Linked DNA regions of Homo sapiens: region 1 is linked to region 2. The links are contacts of gene promoters, found by promoter capture Hi-C in blood cells and fetal thymus (Javierre and others, 2016). All regions are on one chromosome and are shown on one strand. Each heading gives the region's core, a stretch centred on a gene start or on the middle of the fragment in contact. The rest is flanking DNA. Distances are from core to core; before and after follow the strand shown. Region 1 has its middle 170 kb from the start of C1orf21-DT. Region 2 holds the start of COLGALT2 (collagen beta(1-O)galactosyltransferase 2).

Region 1 (6,387 bases), core at 844-3,343, 180 kb before region 2:
GAAGAGAGGCTCAGAAAGGCTCTGACGCTGGAACTCAAGCCTAGCAGAATTGAGAGCTGGAGTAGGATAGGCCAGAGAACACAAGAGGAGTCATTGAAAACCTTTGAGAAAAACTCTCGATGGGACCACCCACCCATGCCAGTGTATTCAGCAGTTAAGTGTCCATCTCCAAAATAAATCAGGTGTCCTTCAAAGCACTGAGTGGCCCCAGAGAGCAGACCTGCACCTTCTGGCACTTAGAAGTCCTTCTGAGTAGAGCAGGCTTTCTACTCCATCACCCTAATGCCATGGTTCTCCGCAGTGAGTGATTTTGCCCCCCCAGGACATTTGGGAGTGAGTAGAGAAGACATTTTTGGTTGTCTGTGAGGACAACAAACTTGGGGAAGGTGCTACTGGCACGTGGAGGGTAGAGGCCAGAGGTGCTGCGAAACATACTACACCGTGGAGGAGAGACTCAGACAACAAAGAATTATTTAGCCTCAAATGTCAATAATAAGAAACTCTAACATAAAGTTCTCCAGTTTACAAACCCCACCCCCACAAACTCCAAACAGTACTCCACAGCCATTTCAGCATTGTCACGTTTCAGTCATCAAGGATCTACTTAACCAAGTGCCTGGCCCCGCTGGATGCTGTAAGACGGGGGTCCCTAACCCCCAGGGCCACGGACTGGTATCTGTTAGGAACCGGGCTGCACAGCAGGAGGTGAGTGTGGGCCAGCCAGCATCACCACCTGAGCTCCGCCTCCTGTCAGATCAGCGGCAGCATTAGGCTCTCATAGGAGCATGAACCACACTGTGAACTGCGCATGCGAGGGATCTCGGTGGCTAAGATTCTGAACCATTCTACAGCGTAACACTGATGCTGTAGATTAATGGCAGGCTCTTTATGAGAATCTAATGCCTGGAAATCTGTCACTGTCTCCTACCACCCCTAGATGGGACCTTCTAGTTGCAGGAAAACAAGCCAGGGGCTCCCACTGATTCTACATTACAGTGAGTTATATAATTATTTCATTACATATTACAATGTGATAACAACAGAAATAAAGCACACGATAAATGTAATGGGCTTGAATCATCCCGAAACCATCCCCACACCCCGCTGGTCCATGGAAAAATTGCCTTCCATGAAACCGGTCCCTGGTGCCAAAAAGGTTGGAGACCACTACTGTAAGAGATGCTTTACGGCAGATCCATGACATGGTCACTGGGGACATGGAAAGAGAAAGGGTGTTTCCGTGTTGCTTTGAAAAACTCTGAGGCAATGCAACCAAAATTTTAAAAAGAAGAAAAAGAAAGCGTCTGAATTAGGAAAGAGCAAACAGCTTCGGTACATGCTACTGGGAAAAACGGCTTTTCAGGGTTGACCGCAGTACCTATCGATGGCCAGCAGAGGGCAGATGGGGCAAAAGAGCAGGAGAAAGGGAATTTCTGCCCTTCAGGGAGGCAATTCCAGTAAGAATACATGATTGTAAGTCAAGAGTCAACTGGAATTAAAAGCAGGAAATAGAGAAGGCAGTAGCTCACTGACTCCAAGACAATGCAGGTTTCACACAGTTGGGAGTCGAGGCCACAGAAGAACTAGGGAACCCAGGGCACCAAGGCTGAGGGGTAAGGGGCCAGAGTGGGCATGGGGCTTGGGTGGGAGAGCCCGATCCATTGCCAGGTGCTGTGCTCACCATACACAGGGGGAATAGGCCTCTGAAACACCTTCAGTGTTTGCCTCTGCCTCCTCTCAGCCTCCGCTTTGCTTTTTATAGGCCCAGTGCCTGGTATGACAATCAGAGGAAGCTGAAAAGCCTACCTGCAGGCCATGCAATGATGTGGGTGGATTTGGAAGAGGTGGATTCTGCTGGTGGGAAAGATGAAACCTGGCTTTGGTTGGTAGCAGGCTATTCTATATGTGAGTTTCTGCCCAACAGTTCCATGGTCGCCCTGCAAACCCAGCATCACACTGTAGTGTGTTTTGATCGCATAAACCTCCTTGAAAAGTCATTCTATAAGCACTTCTTGTTTTGTAAAAATAAAGTGTATTAGGGTTCTCTAGAGGGACAGAACTAATAGGATAGATGTATATATAAAGGAAAGTTTATTAAGGAGAATTGACTTACATGATCACAAGGTAAAGTCCCACAATAGGCCATCTGCAAGCTGAGGAGCAAAGAAGCCAATTTGAGTCCCAAAACCTCAAAGGTAGGGAAGCTGACAGTGCAGCCTTCAGTCTGTGGCCGAAGGCCTGAGAGTCCCTGGCAAACCACTGGTGTAAGTCCAAGAGTCCAAAAGCTGAAGAACTTGAGTTTGATGTTTGAGAGCAGGAAGCATCCAGCACGGGAGAAAGAAGATGGGCGGAAAACTCAGCAAGTCTGCTTCATTCTAGCCATGCTGGCAGCTGATTAGATGGTGCCCACCCACATTGAGGGTGGGTCTGTCTCTCCTAGTCCACCGACTCAAACGTTAATCTCCTTTGGCAACACCCTCACAGACACACCCAGGAACAATACTTTGCATCCTTCAATCCAATCAAGTTGACACTTAATATTAACCATCAAAGAAGAGTTAAGACATCTCTAGGGGAGTTTTCAGGGAATACCTGGAAATATTCTGGTGTCCAATAAAGGTAAAATTCTCATCAGAATCAACACACAGGGTATCTTCCCAAGCTCATTTTTATCATCACTGATGATAGTTACTCATTCTCCAAGTTTATTTCATGAATGTTTAGAATCAAGTCTAAACATCTCAGAAATCTCATTTATTAATAATGTATATCTAGCCGAGTGAGCAATGAGGAAAAGGTTTAATGTCCAAGATTTGGGGCTGGAGATAATATAACCTCTACCATGCTTACAGAATATAAAATGCTGGCCTAGTCTAGAAACCCAATCAAATGGCAACACAAAATGCAGACTACAAGTGTGGAATATTCTGATTTATTTGCTGTTTTAAAAAACCCTTTTTGCCTGATACCTATCAAAACCAAAAATAATCCTCTCACACAAGATAAGCGGGGATAGGAACTACACATTATTTAGGAGCTGGGCATTGTTGTAAGTACTTATTTGTTCTGGCATTTAATCCTCAGAACAGCCAACTGAATTAGTATTATTATGCCATTTTATAGATGAAGAAACCAATGTTCTAAGACATCACTGTAATAATCGAACAAGTTTTGTTGTTGTTGTTGTTGTTTTTAAGTGTCTTCTGTATCAGGAACTGAGCCATATTCTGGAGAAAAACAGAAACAATGACAGTGTCTCCCCCGTCTGCGGGATGTAGATATGTACACTGACAATTACATACTACAAATACTGTAATGGAAGTGGGAACACCTGGAATCTGCCTGGGTCAGGGACAATTTCATAGCGAGGTGACTCCAGCTGATTCCTAAAAGAATAGAGATTTTCCACTTTTCCCGTCTACTTGATGCTGTGATCTTATACTGTTGCAAAGTGATATCTCCAATTTCCATGGAAACTCCCTGCAGGCTAATTAGAATCCAGTTTATAAATTTAAAATAGGTAGAGTTTGATATTCTCTGATGCACACCGGTGTCTACTTCCTGCTGGCAGAGTTCTGTGGCCTTTTTGGGGATCCTTGGGATGGGACAAGGCTGATAAAATAACTTACCAGCTGGAGGTCACCACTCTTATCTAGCAATGGCATTCAATTGCTAGATAAGACACAAGTTGATAAGACTCAATTGACCCATGTGGCCCACCTGAAACGCCACATGGGGCAATTGAACCACCCGTCTCTTCCACCTGCCCTAAACTGCTACTACTTTTGGGGCTAAAGTGCCCTCTGCCCTTCACTGGTGGTTCTCAGAGCAGCTCTGGCCAGCTCGCCAGTGGCCCTGCCTGAGAATCCTCAGTGGAGTTCCATGTCTAGAGGAAGTCAAGGAAAAGAGGCCCACATTAGTGGAGAATTGCGCTCGTCTGTGATTGGTGGAGCCTCTCTAAGATTTTTCCAGCGTCAATATTCCCTTTCAAACATCATTAAAGCTAAAAGGAAAAGTCAGCACTAGATGTGAGGAAGCAGATTGGAGTCCTGTGTGTTATATGGCGACAACTGCCTCCATCGCAGGGCTGACTCACCGTCGTGTTATTGACCGGAAGAATATTTATTATCACAGGTCAAAGAATGAAGCATACTTCTCTCATTTCACTCAATTAATTTGTATAAAATGTTAGTTCATAATATGTGCTGTAATTTTCTTTAAAAACTTTTTTTTAAGTCAAGCTTTGTCAGCTATAAGAAGTGATGGACAGCAGCTAGGTGCTTAAGGCAGCCTGTGGGTTCTGGCTCAAAAGAAATAAGAAAAAGCCAAGACCCCCTTGACTTGCCTGGAGACCTTACAGAATATTAACATGGAGGGTTCATAACAGGCAATATAGTTCATTTTAATTAGGATCCCACAACCCTAGAAATTAAGTTACAGAAGATCTATTAGGTCATCTGGCCTATCGCTTTCCCTATCCCCTGTGCAATGCAGGATTGTTCCCTGGGGTCTGCTCACAAATGCATGGTTCAGTCTACATTTAAATGACTGCAACTATGAGGCTTACGTCATCCCCCTTGGGGATGACTATTACGTAGTCTAATGGATTTCACCATGATTATTTTTCCCTCCAGAGATTCTGCCCAAATTTCTCTTTGCTTGAATTTGTCTCATTTTTCCTCATTATATACCTTCAGGTTCAGAAAAATCACAAAAATGACAGTGAGAATGACCAAGTCTCTATTTCTTACTCTTTAGCAATAAAGATGGAAGTCGCCCCAGTGGGCTTTCTCAGTTTCACATTTTGTAGGTAAGCTGGAACACTGCTAACCCTTCTTACTCTTAGAAGACACTCACCATTCCTCTTAAAGGAATCCACAAAAATCACCAGCGTGGGGGCAGGTTTGAGTTTCAGTGGTGGTGGTCCATTTGACACGATTCACTCCTCCCTGCCTTGTCTGATCAACCATGTAACCAATGATATATTTGCCAAGATTTGTGATGCTCTCTGTGTCAGCAGAACAGAGGAAATCATTCTGGCTTTTGGGGGATGGTACCTATGACTTTACAATCATTGGCACCATTTAAGCTACCAGCCAAGCCACCCACTCCCTATTACATTTCTCAATGACACTCAAGGAATCTTACAACTTCAAGTTGACTAGGCGAAGAGATTTGGATCTTCTTTATGTCATCAATTTCACATATGTGCATACACGTGTACAGAGAGAAGCAGCAGCACCAGGAGAAGGAAACAAAGGAGAAATAGCAGCAGGGCTGCAAAAGAAAACACATCCCACATTCACAATCCCCTATTTATAAAGGATAATTGAGTCCCATGCATGGTGAGACTGTGACTCATTAGAACTCCTTAATTAAAGAGGAAAGCCTCCCTGGTGATTTTATTTCCTTGGGTTTGTTTTTGGTTGTTATTGCTAAGTATGAGAAAGACAGCAATGCCCTGCTTGGAGAGAGGATCATTCTTCTGAGCAGGACACGAAGCTGGAAAATGAATTCACTAATGAATTCAGAGCACAGCCAGGGCTGAATTGCAACTCCTTGCTATCCCACTAGCAATCGTCCCTAAGCACAATTACCCTGAATCATTACACTGGATGGCAACTCAGGCTGAGTGAGATGGTTGGAAAGGAAAGTGTGATTTAATGACAGAAAGGGCACAGCGTACATGTGGCCACACCTCTATTTCCAAGGACAGGTCCATTCATTCTTTTATTCTTTCCGTCTACTCTTCTGGGGCCAGGCACTGTGCTAAGTACTAGGAATAGTTGTCCAGGGCTGTTGAAAGAGGGTGGCAGGCCATACATCAAAACTTTAACAGCATATAGTTATAATTTCATCTTTCTTTGTATTGGAAGTAAAGGACAATTTAGAATCTTTTAAAATGGATTACAAAATTCTGTAAATACGTACAGCGTGAGAGAAAATAACATAATTAAACACTTGTCTGCCCACCATCTAACTTTATTGAATCTTAACATTTTGACATATTTGCTTTAGATTTTGTAAAATAATAAAACACTATAAAGTAATTGAAGCCTCCTACGTGCTCCTCCTCTAAGCCACCCTACAGGTAACCATCATGTTAAATTTCATGTTTACCATTCCTATTCATGCTTTATACTACTCTTCACATATGTGTCTTATGTGTGAATCCATAAATAACAAATAGGCTGTTTTATATGCTTTCAAACTTTATACAAAAGGTGTCCTATTGTACCTATTTTTCTGTAATTTGGTTTTTTAAAATTCATTATTTTTGAGATTTACCCATGTTAATGATACATGTAATCCTAGTTCATTCATTTCAGTTCTTACACAAAATTTCATTATACTTATATGGCTATAGCACAGCTTATTTATCTACTG
Region 2 (6,675 bases), core at 552-3,051:
ATTCGATAAAAAAATATGAAGATTAGAGAAGAGATTAGAGCAGAAGACATAGATTTTGAGGATATAACCACAGGAGACCATATGGAGTGGGAAGACTAGCACACTATAGGGAGGCACACAGTGAAGGGGCTTGGCTCAGAGACAAGTAGTATCAGAGGAGATCTAGGATGGGAGATTATGTAATCGAAGTCCAGGAAGGTGAGAACGGAAGAGTTTACTGAATCTGCCAATGCTGAGGCCATCTGTTGGTTTTGCAGAACAGTGGGGAGGGCTGACGCCTTACTGCACTGTGGTGGGAAAGATGGGAGATGAAGAAGTGGAGAATACAAGTATAGATCTCTCTTCCAAGGAGCTTGGTCAAGCAAAGGGATGACTAGAAGAAGACACAGGACTTTTTTTTAAAGCTTTTCTTTCTTTTTTTTTTAACGGATAAGAGAAGACTGACCAAGTATTTAGCTTGAGAGAAAGGAGTTGATAGAGATCAGTTGAAGATTCAGTAGAGAGTGGAATGATAGAGAAAAATCATGGGCTAGAAAGGGAGACCTCTCCCTTTCTAGTCTGTGATCAAAGACCCTGTCGTGAGGAGGCACCTGCAAGTAAGAAAGGTCTTGGTAGGGATGCTAGTTGGAGACAGTGGTGTTGGGGGAGCTGGATGAAGGAGGTGATATACTTCAAAAGACAGTAGGGAAGACTTCTAATAGTTGCTGAGAAGGATTGATAACAACTAATAAAAAGACTATGGGACAGACCTGAGGGTGAGTTGGGATTGGAGATCATGAATGTGCACTGGCACCAAAACACCCTCCATACTTATCTATCAAAGGCTACACAATATATCTTCAAAACTAAATATCCAGCCGAGCATGGTGGCTGATGCCTGTAATCGTAACACTTTGGGAGGCCGAGTTGGGCAGATCACTTGAGCCCAGGAGTTCCAGACCAGCCTGGGCAAAATGGTGAAAACCCGTCTCTACAAAAAAAAAAAAAAAAAAAAAAATTAGCTAGGCGTGGTGATGGACACCTGTGGTCCCAGCTACTCGGGAGGCTGAGGTGGGAGGATTGCTTGAGCCCAGGAGGTCGAGGCTGCAGTGAATTGTGATCGTGCCTCTGCACTCCAGCCCCGGCAACAGAGTGAGGCCCTGTCTCAAAAAAAAAAAAAAAAAAAAAGTAAATCTCCTTTAGCAGTGTATGCCAGCAGTTTCATTTTATGTGCTAATTGTGTTCTTCCTTCACCCCTTCTTTTCTTCCTTATCTCTTCTCTGCTCTCCAACATGCGCGAATTTTCCCTCTTTGTTACTCTATCATATTGGCTTATTACGGAAAAAGAAAACCAGCTAAGTGAATTTATTCTTTCACAGCCCTCCTGTGAGGAGGCTTACTGGGTTCACAGTAGAGTGAGGCTTCAGGACAGTGTCTCCCAAGGGCTTTCTTTTATTTTGCGGGGTCTGATCTGGCTCCAAAATTCTCCAAGTCTTCAAACTTTGTGTTATTAGGTGTCTACTCAGTCAAGAATGAATTTCAGAAGTTGAGTATATAAGAAAATGCGACATGCTGCCTTTGCGGTGGTTAAACAAGTGTTTGTCATAATCGTGAATAGTTGGGGAGACTTTTCATTTTAGAACTCTACTCAGTCAATAGGTGCATTATGAAAACTGGATACATTGCATCACTGTGAAGGGCTTCAGTCTGCGGTTTGCAAAAGCAGAATAAATTTTCTTGGGGTTGTACCGTTATGTACACACACACACACACACACACACACACACACACACACTCACAGGCTCATTGGCAGACAGGGCCACAACTCGCGGCTCTAGGGAAGGCCACAGACCTCAGCTGTACGAGCGGAACCTGGACTAGAGGAACTTTCCTCAGGACTCAGGGCACACAGCCCCTCGGCCACTACTGTCTGCGAGCCCGAGGCGCAGGGGAGCGCCAGCGGCTGCAGGTACGCTGCGCACCCGCACTGGGGCCTGGGCGGTGCAGCGGCGGCGGGAGGGTCCTGGGAACCGCAGCCGCCGAGGCCAGTGTGTGAGCCGGCCGGCCGCGGCAAGCCGCATCCCCCGGCCGCCCCTCGCAGCCCCTTGCTCCCCGGCAGCCGCCGCCGCCCTCAGGCAGCCCAGCCGGGCGCTCGCGCCAGGACTTCCCCGCCGCCCGCCTCGGCCCGGAACATGGCTGCGCGCCCTGCTGCCACCCTCGCCTGGTCGCTACTGCTCCTCTCCTCAGCCCTGCTCCGCGAAGGCTGCCGAGCGCGCTTCGTCGCCGAGCGGGACTCGGAGGACGACGGAGAGGAGCCGGTGGTTTTCCCGGAGTCGCCCCTGCAGAGCCCCACGGTGCTCGTGGCGGTCCTCGCCCGCAACGCGGCGCACACGCTGCCGCACTTCCTCGGCTGCCTGGAGCGGCTGGACTACCCCAAGAGCAGGATGGCCATCTGGTGAGCGCGCACGGGCCCCGGGCCGCCGCGGCGGGACGCGGGGGCGGCCTGCCCAGCGCGGACAGCGCCCGGAGCAGCAGCTGCAGGGCGAGGGAGCCGCTGGAGGGGCGGGGGGGCACGCGGAAAATCTGGCGCACACACCCCCTCGCTGCCCGCGCCGGTGGCTGGCGGATCGGGCGGTCAGGCTGCGGAGGGACGCGCGGGTCAGTGTGCGCAGAGGGTGCTGATGGGGAGAACCGGACCGCTGGAGCTCTGGAGGGTAGCCTGCGAATTGGGGCTTTGTCCCACAAGGGGCATGGGGGACACCCCTCAAGGGGACTTTCAGTTCCCTCGCTTTTAACTCTCGAGGTTTCCTCTTTCCCCACCTCATACTGCTAGCCCTGACGTGAGGGGATAGGGTGCCTGTCGCCGTATTCCCATGTAGATACGACAGATGGAACGTAACTGCGGTTGGCCAGGGGCTCCGCAGTGGCTGGGGCGCCGCAGTGCGCTGCTCTGACTTTCCGGTGCCGGGCTCCTGCTCCAGGCTGGAAATGTGCTCCTAGCTCTCCTAGGGGGACCTGGACCTAGGGGTGGAGATTGGGCGGAGCCCGCGGAGTGTGCCCAACCATGGCACCACCGTGGGCCTGGTCTCCTGCGAGCGCTCCGGGCTGTCCCTGCCGGTGCATCGGGGTTCCACGTCCCGGGGAGAGACGAAGATGCCCTGGGAAAGATAAACAGCCAAGTTTTGTCCCCGGAGGAAAGAAGCTTGGACCTGGTCCCTGTGTCTGCTGCGGGGAGGGCCAGGGGATAAGTGCGGGTGCCTGCCCGCCCCACCTTGTAGAACTTGGTCGTCTCGCACCTTTTATAAACGCGAGGATCCGAGGGCGAGAAGTTAGTTGGTGGCCAGGTTAGCCGCTGAGTGGGTTGTGGAGGACAAGGAGGTGGATGCTGGCCAGGGGAGATGTGCTGTCAGGTAGGTACTCGGACAAGAAGACTCTGGCCCCCTGAGGAAGACAGAGCCCAGGTCACTCTGGAGCAATTTCTGTCTTGTGTTGATAAAGGGAGCTGTTCTCAGGCGAGACACATCCTTAAAGCAGCGGTTGGGCAAAGAGAGGAAGAGGAGTAAAAGCAGCAGCTAGAATTGGCAGCCTCAGAGTACCTGGTGGGAGAGGTGCAAAGGTGCGAAAGCAAACATGTGATATAGTACAGCTCTGTGCTGTACACTGCTTTACTATATACCCTGCCATACGTGACCGCCTGGCGGAGAAGGGCATATTATGTGGAAAGAGAGCACTGGGACAGCCAGGCTTTAAACCAGAAGGAAGGATTTTTTTTTAACCACTTCGGTACCAAAAGAAATTCACACATATCAGTTACCTTAGTTGTTGTGTTTTTTTTAAGAGATATTTTAAAATATGGTTTTGATCTTTATGCATGATTTAGTTTTTTAAAACGTTACAGTATTTACCATAAGAAGTTGGTGAGTGGTGAAGCAGGTGTCAGGCACATGCTTTGCTACCTGATTTAGAGACATTACCTCTTTTTATCATACAGTAAACTTTTAAGAGGATGCTATGATGTTTATTTTGCAAAGAAAGAGACAGACTTGCATCAGTTCAGTAAGTCACTTAAAGTGACAGAATTAATAAATGGTGAAACTGGAATTTGAACCCAAGGCCACCCTAAAAAGGCAGGAAACATGATATAAACAAAATTTACATAAGCCTATAATCTACAAATTAGGAGACTTGAGTTGTTTATTACTAGTTTGATATGTGATTTGGGGCTGGTTGCTTGGGATCCATAGGCATCAGTTGCCTCATCAATAAAACGAGGGAGTTGGAATAAATGATTTCAAAAATTCTTTATGGCTCTTGAATTCCATAGATTTTGCAATATAATTAGGATCAACCAGCATCAATGTACATCCTAAGTTCCCTGTAAGTTCCAGATGGTATGGACACTGGTGTCTTACTTAGATGAGAGAATTCCAGTTCTGCATAGACCTTTGAAATCTGTTGTCTTTTATGTCCAGCATTGGCAGGTTAAGCAAGAAGTGCAAGGCCATGCTTGCGTCAGTCATTGAAGACTCTTCTTTGAAAAATTTTGGTTCTGTCTTTAAAACATTGTGTAATTCTTTAGGTAACAATAATACAAATCCCAGTTTCTAAATAGTTCTTTTCAGCTCACAAAGGAGCTGTAAAGAACCTTTGGAAATAACTTCCATGCACTGTTAACTCATTTGATTCTTACTGCCATTCTGTGAAGAAATAAAATTATCTCTATTTCCCAGAAGAAGAAATGTGTTTAAAGTGATTGACTTACTCAAAATTACATTTATTTATAAATTCCACACATAATAATAAGAGCTCGTGGTTCTTCTAAGAACTTCACATTCATTTTCTGGTTTAAGCTTCAAAATGACCCTATCAGATATGCACTGTTATTATACCACTTTACAGGTGAGAGAACTGAGGTACAGAGAGGCTGTACAAGCATATTCTTCTAATGCATTTTTTAAAATAAGAACCAGCCAGATCAGGGCTGAAAAAAAGTGTATTTAGATATGTGTGTTTTTTTACAGATAAATATGATTCATTTTACTGGGCAGTGTAAGGTGATCTGAATGGCTTTTAAAGGGTTTGGGGAAGAACCAAATGATTTATAAATCAGATTGGGGCAGTTGTATGGATATGGATGTCTTCTTGATGAGTGGACACTTAGTTTGAACTCAGTTTTGAAGGAAGAGTAAAAATCAACTAAAACCTGGGAAAGAAGGATGGCTCTAGAAAAAGGGATCAGCAAGGCAAAAAACAAGCAAAAAAAAAAAAAAAGATAATAGGGCATCAACCAGAGTTTTCTCTCAGGGAGTTCAAGTGGGTGGCAGGTCTAATGACTGCAAGTCTCCAAACAGATTGTATTGTACCATAGAATCTCTTTGGAAGTGCTGACTTCTGGTCTGGCCCTAGGGGAATATTTGGCTGGGAAGCTTATGAGATATAACACTCTGATGGGAGGTGGTACCTCAGTTTAGGATGTTACAGATTTGAGGTGCTTCTACCGATTGCTTGCCTCTAGTTTCTCATTCCCAAGCTCTATGCAACATTCCAAGATGCCAAACTGATTAGTATCCATTCTGCAAAGCCAGCACATGCTGATGTCAAAAATGGCTGTGAGCTACCCAGAACTTTGTAAAATAGAACCGCAGTGAATACAGAGCCACACAGAATTCAGCTTCCTCTGAATCTGACCACAATAACTCACTCTGTGCAGACTCACTCTTCTCATTCATCCACTCACAGGCTAGAGGAGCATCTGATTTCTGTCCCAGATGGGTCAGTGAGAGACCTGGCTTATTGATCACATTCAGACTCCCCTGTTATGTGATAATTTTTCTCACTTTAAGTTCTGGACCAGATCTGCACTGCACATACAGATGAAATGAGTATCATCAAATTGACCTGGAAGATACTGTTGTTGAAGAATGTCTGCAGTTATCTCAGTCAGCATCAAGTTTATTCAGATTAGTCTGAACAAAGGAAAATTTATATTTTAGAGATACTTTGTATAAGCAAAAAGGAAAGCTTTTTACATTTACCTGTCTGATCTCAAAATCCACCAAGCTAATTGTTTTCCTTCAAATATCACAATCCTGTGATAAGGACCTAAGGAAGATATCTATTTCATGTGTCCTAAAACCTGCACTAAGTTTTAGGGAATTGGGAATATGCTGAGATGAAGGGAACTGTGAGGCATTGTGACAAGTGGTAGTGTACTTCAGTGGGTTCTCCTTAATTCAGTGGAACCATGAGCAAGTAGCCTTAGCAACAGAGGGAAGGCTGACCTCATCCTCCTTAAACCTATGATTAGGGAGAGTGGGGCCAAGTACCATGACAGTGAAAACCGAAGCATGGCGCAGGGAAAAACATTTGCCCCAAATGAAACATTAAGTTTTTCTTTTGGAGAGCCTGCTGTTGCTTGTGGGAAGACAGTTGGGATTCACAGAGTCTGTGCAGGCACAAGGCAGTAACTGCTATGTAATTACAGAAAGATTTGGGCATTTTGTTTGGCAGAGTTTTGAAAAGTAACATACTAAATTGGGAACCGCTTTATGGATTTTTAAATAAAGAGAGGAGCTTCTGTTGACATAAACATAAACAGTGATGAGCTGGGGGATGGTCCTAACATTTTGCATACTACTTTATTTCTGCATTGTTTGGGGATTATCTTGAATTTATCTCCACATTTTAATGTCCAAT

What was found. The method cuts DNA at HindIII sites, captures the fragments that hold promoters and counts their contacts. A CHiCAGO score of 5 or more calls a contact.
Region 1: a fragment that was not itself captured here is called in contact with the fragment with the promoter of COLGALT2 in region 2 in 1 of 17 cell types (neutrophils); the score reaches 5.8 in neutrophils.

What each region holds. Positions count from the first base shown.
Region 1 is chr1:184,217,764-184,224,150 of GRCh38, reverse strand. No RefSeq gene overlaps it. Among named protein-coding and RNA genes, the nearest start is that of C1orf21-DT, 170 kb to the left of the region's middle. RefSeq lists an enhancer at 185-718. The HindIII fragment of the contact is 4,300 bases long and covers 1-4,243 here.
Region 2 is chr1:184,032,854-184,039,528 of GRCh38, reverse strand. COLGALT2 (collagen beta(1-O)galactosyltransferase 2) reads left to right here and starts at 1,801. Exons shown (of 12, transcript NM_015101.4): 1 at 1,801-2,434. The coding sequence starts at 2,172. RefSeq lists a silencer at 1,989-2,078. The HindIII fragment of the contact is 2,777 bases long and covers 407-3,183 here.